Regions from separate parts of the Homo sapiens genome. Here region 1 is linked to region 2. Evidence: promoter capture Hi-C in 16 types of primary human blood cells and fetal thymus (Javierre and others, 2016). All regions are on one chromosome and are shown on one strand. The core of a region is centred on a gene start or on the middle of the fragment in contact, and the rest is flanking DNA. Distances in the headings are between cores, read along the strand shown.

Region 1 (2,700 bases), core at 201-2,700, 170 kb after region 2:
AAACAAAACAAAGAAAAAAAAACCATAAAGTTTTTTTTTTTTTTTTTTTTTTTTTTTTTTTTTTTTTTAAGATGGAGTCTCGCTCTTGTTGCCCAGGCTGGAGTACAATGGCATGATCTTGGCTCACCGCAACCTCCGCTTCCCAGGTTCAAGTGATTCGCCTGCCTCAGCCTTCCCGAGTAGCTGGGATTACAAGCATGCACCACCATGCCCAGCTAATTTTGTGTTTTTAGTAGAGACGGGGTTTCTCCATGTTGGTCAGGCTGGTCCTGAACTCCCGACCTCAGGTGATCCGCCTGGCTCGGCCTCCCAAAGTGCTGGGATTACAGGTGTGAGCCACCGTGACCAGCCAGGTTTTCGGGTTTTATCTGTTTGAGACTTGGTCTCACTCTGCCGCCCAGCCTGGAGCGCAGTGGTGCAATCTTGGCTCACTGCAACCTCTATCGCCCGAGTTCAAGCGATTCTCCTGCCTCAACCTCCCGAGTATCTGGGAGTACAGGTGCGCGCCACCACACCCGTCTAATTTTTTGTATTTATAGTAGAGGCAGAGTTTCATCATGTTGGCCAGGCTGGTCTCCAACTTCTGACCTCAAGTGATCCACCCACCTCGGCCTCCGAAAGTGTTGAGATTACAGGTGTGAGCCACCGCCTCCGGCCTGTTTGTTTTTTTGAGACAGGATCTCACTGTGTCACCCAGCCTGGAGTGCAGTGGCACCATCATAGCTCACTGTAACCTTGAACTCCTGGCCTCAAGTGATCCTCCCAACTTGGCTTCCCAAAGTGCTACGATTACAGGCGTGAGGCATCGTGTCCGGCCTCAACAACGTTTTTTGAAGTGTCTATTCTGTACCAGGTGCCTAAATGTGCTTAAATTAAGAAGGGAGTAAACGCCAACAAAATCCCATATTTACAGGTCTATCACTGACCCCCAAAACCCTATTTAAGGCGGGAACCTGGCAACATAGCCTGGCAGTGAGCTGGCCACTCAGTAAATGCTCCGATTTGCAGGGTCCTCGAGCCAGAGGCACTTTGAGGAGACCCTGATGCAGCCGCCTCCCTTTCTGGAGTGAACCGAAAGCAACGCGACCTGCCTTTCATCACGCAGCCGGCCTGGCAGTACCCGTCTCCAACAGGGCTGGGGATTGCATTTACATTCACACCTGCATACACTTCCGACCCTGCTCCATCCAAACTCAAAACACCGTAGAACCAAAACGGGCTCCCAGAAAGCCTTGCTGGGAAGACCGAGGGTCCTGCGGAAAGGATTCTGCAGGCTGAAGGCTAGGCGCCTCGCCACTCTAGGACTACAATTCCCGAGAGGCCTTGCGACGGAAGCCATCTTTGTTCCCCACCAGGCTAAGCGATTTTCCGGAGGGGGAGTAAGATCCCTTGCGTCACCGGCGCGCGCAGCTGCCGTCGCGGAGAGATGATGTTTAGGTCCGGGACTGTCAGTCAGTGCGCGGCCAGGTACGGGCCGACGGGCCCGCGGGGCCGGCGCCGCCATGGCGGCCGTGTTTGATTTGGATTTGGAGACGGAGGAAGGCAGCGAGGGCGAGGGCGAGCCAGAGCTCAGCCCCGCGGTGAGTGCCCTGCCCTGGCGCGACTGGATCCTGGAGCCGATCCTGTCACCCAGCCGAGGCCGGAGCGGCGGCTCCGCACGCCCAGAGCGGGCTCCGACTCTTTGCAGACCCAGATCCTTCTCAGATCCCGGTCTCTATTAAGTTCTGATCCCACCCTCACCCCGACCTCTCTTCCAGAACCCCAGCCTTTTCTCCCGATTCTCCCTTTCCTGCCTTCGGTTTCTTCCCAATTCTTACCCATCCCCTACTAGCTGCCATCCCTGACACCCTTCTCTCCTGGGCCACGCAGTCCAACCTGAACGGGAGCGGGGAGGTATCCTGGCACCTTCCTTGGCTCTTACCCCTCGGTTTCTCACAGGACGCATGTCCCCTTGCCGAGTTGAGGGCAGCTGGCCTAGAGTGAGTGAGGGTCGTGTTGGGGGAGGGGGGAATGGAGTGGGGAAGGGGAACTGGGGAGCACTGGAGCCTTGTCCTCATTAACTCCTTGTGTCCGTAGGCCTGTGGGACACTATGAAGAGGTGGAGCTGACTGAGACCAGCGTGAACGTTGGCCCAGAGCGCATCGGGCCCCACTGCTTTGAGCTGCTGCGTGTGCTGGGCAAGGGGGGCTATGGCAAGGTAGGGGCGGGCGCACCCTCCTCCTGGCCTCACAGCCTCCATCTGGAGGCAGCAAAGGGTTCTCAAAACAAATTAGACTTGTGAATCAGCAGGGCCTCTAATGGGATTCAGAGCCAGAAACATAAAGGAGGGAAGGCCAAATCCTCTCCAATCGGACTTGAAATCTTCACTGCCCCACCCTTGGCAGGGCCTAGGCCTCCTGATCCCAAAGCCAGAGCTTCAGGGTGGGGCTTCTTGAAGATAGGATGTGGAGAGGGAAGTTGATCCTGTCTCCCCTGCCCTACAGGTGTTCCAGGTGCGAAAGGTGCAAGGCACCAACTTGGGCAAAATATATGCCATGAAAGTCCTAAGGAAGGTGAGTCACTCGTTCAGCCAACGAATACTGTGTGGCTGCCATTCCCAACATGCTGTACCAGGCTTTGGGAAGACAGCAGGGAACACAGTGGAGGAGGATCCCTGACTTTGGCGTTTGCTGGTTTATTGTCTGTTGTGATGTGTATTGT
Region 2 (2,700 bases), core at 167-2,666:
ATTGTTGCTTAGCAAGAGGTTTACCCAGGGCCATCTTAAGTGTCAGTCTCCCAGGCAGCACTCTGGACTGGCAGGCCAATCACTGCAATGGACAGCAAAGAGAACGGAATCAGTGTTGCTGCCAGCCCTGCAGTTCTCCTCAGCATAACCACTAAAGAGGAAATTTGAGTCAGATGTTACTTTGGTCAGCTCCTTATAAGCCCTTGTTCTCTTCAGCATTTTGAGCTCTTAGAAAGACAGGAAGTCACTCCTTCTTGTATTGCTCTGGTGGGAACTAAGCAATCAATTTACCACTAAAGCTAGAAGATGTAGTATAGGATACCATGGAAATCTTTGAGCTGGATGACTAAAAGATTAGGCATAGTCCTTCTCTCCTATTAGACTGGAAGTTTGTTCACTTTGCTCAGATCGTTACGGCTCTGAGTATGCTGGGAAACAGTGTATTATTACATGTCTCATTCCATCCATTGCAGGACTGAAAGACCTCCTCCTAGCAGGCTGCTCCTGGTCTGCAGTCTCTGCCCTCAGCACCTCCAGCTGCCCCCTTCTCAGGACCCTTGATCTTCGGTGGGCAGTAGGAATCAAGGACCCTCAAATTCGGGACTTGCTTACTCCACCGGCTGATAAACCAGGTATGCTCTGGACCTGACTTCTCTGTGCTTGTCTTGGGGTAGCTTTGTCTTCCAAACAGACCTCGTCTTCAGAAGCTAAGGTAGTCTCAGATATGACGCTGTGGAAGAATAGAAGAGCACAAAATGAAAACAGAATGATGGACTGTGTACAAGAATAGGGTAACTATAAGCAGATAACTACCTACAAACAATGGAGTAAGTCCATTTTGTGAGTTGGTGGAGTTTGGGGCCCAGAGAGTGTAAGCCTGAAAAAGTCTGAGAAGGCTTTATGGTGGAGGTGGAGTCAAAAGCTATTTGCATGATGGTCTAGAAAAGTGTGGTGGTATTGGAAGGGGAGGAGCATTCTGCACATAGCCTTTTGCTGTGTGCATGAGGCATAATCTAGCAGCTTGAGAAGAAAGAAAACTTGTCTGGTTTCCTAGAAACTGCCTACACCCAGTGCTCACACCCTGAAGGCATGGCTGGGTGTGGGCAGTTCTACTTAACCCCTTCAAGGGGGCCTGGCCAGCAAGTAGCTGTTGCTGCCTGGAGCCTTGAAGCTGGATTAGAGAATTGAGAGTTTTGATCTAGGCTCTTCTCTTGCCTGTACAGGTCAGGACAATCGCAGCAAGCTCCGGAACATGACCGACTTCCGGCTGGCAGGCCTTGACATCACAGATGCCACGCTTCGCCTCATAATTCGCCACATGCCCCTCCTGTCTCGACTCGACCTCAGTCACTGCAGCCACCTTACAGATCAGTCCTCCAATCTACTCACTGCTGTCGGGTCTTCCACTCGCTACTCTCTCACAGAGCTCAATATGGCAGGTATGCCGCTACAGTTGTTCATAATCAGCGGTGCCCCCTGCCTCCAGCCCTCCCTGGAACTTGATCAGTAAACCAGAATGACCTTGGGTCTGTTGATTGACCCACATCAGCTCATTTCTTCACATCTGGACAAGGACATGGATTTCTATCCCTTTTTTAACTGATGGGGGACTGAGGCCTTGAGTAGTTAAGTCGGTTGCCTGTCTGCGCAGCCAACATCCAGCTGGAGTTTGGTCAGCCTTGCAGCCCTTGTGCTTGTTGTCATATGGTGATGGGAGTGAGGCAGCAGGGTCCCTTTGGAGGTGCTGATGGCACTTCTGGTCTCTGAGCCAGGTAGTTGTGGGACAAAGAGGGCTTTTGTTTAGCATTTTGAAGGAAAGACGGCTACAGGAATTGAATGGCAGAGGAAAGCTGTGTGTATGTGAGCACTGTCATTATGTCCACTTTCCCGACAGGTTGCAATAAATTGACAGACCAGACCCTGATCTACCTACGGCGCATTGCCAACGTCACCTTGATCGACCTTCGAGGATGCAAGCAGATCACTCGAAAAGCCTGCGAGCACTTCATCTCAGACTTGTCCATCAACAGCCTCTACTGCCTGTCTGACGAGAAGCTGATACAGAAGATCAGCTAAGACACACCCAGCCCAGATTCAACAGGAAACCGATCTTCCCCTGACTCCCCACCGAGGAGAGCCTCTCCTCGACCCTGCACGGGCTCTGAGGCCAGCGTCACACTCCCTCTCTGCTCTCCTGTCCCTTGAGCCCTTCCTCTACAGGTGGGGCAGAGAGGGTGGTGGACACCAGGCTTATCTGCCTGCTCCTCTCCCTCCTAAGGAAAAGGGAGTAGCAGATTGATCTGAGGGGAAAGCACAGGCTGTGCTGTCGAGGCGCCTGCTCGCTTACTCGCCTGCCAGGAGGCCGGGCTCTCAGTTTGGGGTGTTTGTGCAACCTTCATCTGCACTGGGCCCTGTGCCCCTCCTCCCCATCCATGGTCCCCAGCAGTGCCTGGTTCTGAGCAAACTCCCAGGGAAGAAAACGGCCCTGTCTCCATGGCCAGGTTCTTGTGGTGTCCAGTGCGCGTCTCTCCTCCATCACACTCTCCCGGCTTGCGCAGGAGGGGCCAGCAGCCCCAGGAGTCCCAGACCCGTGCCGATCACACTGGTGCTGTTGAGATCTCCCAAACCTCACGTCCTTAACTGTGCTCTCCCTCCTTTCCTCTCCCTTGAGCTTGGTTCTGCCCAGCACTCGTGCTTGTT

What was found. The method cuts DNA at HindIII sites, captures the fragments that hold promoters and counts their contacts. A CHiCAGO score of 5 or more calls a contact.
Region 1: a contact is called between the fragment with the promoter of RPS6KB2 here and a fragment that was not itself captured in region 2, in 1 of 17 cell types (naive CD8 T cells). The highest score is 5.2, in naive CD8 T cells.

Annotation. Positions count from the first base shown.
Region 1 is chr11:67,427,044-67,429,743 of GRCh38, forward strand. RPS6KB2 (ribosomal protein S6 kinase B2) reads left to right here and starts at 1,451. Exons shown (of 15, transcript NM_003952.3): 1 at 1,451-1,580; 2 at 1,939-1,979; 3 at 2,077-2,197; 4 at 2,484-2,552. The coding sequence starts at 1,503. RefSeq lists enhancers at 995-1,144, 1,161-1,928, 1,245-1,494, 1,929-2,696. The HindIII fragment of the contact is 16,232 bases long and covers 1-2,700 here.
Region 2 is chr11:67,252,980-67,255,679 of GRCh38, forward strand. It overlaps KDM2A (lysine demethylase 2A), which reads left to right. Exons shown (of 21, transcript NM_012308.3): 19 at 474-632; 20 at 1,224-1,439; 21 at 1,895-2,700. The coding sequence ends at 2,076. Among named protein-coding and RNA genes, the nearest start is that of GRK2, 12 kb to the right of the region's middle. RefSeq lists enhancers at 520-1,719, 1,176-1,676, 1,677-2,177. The HindIII fragment of the contact is 5,283 bases long and covers 1-2,700 here.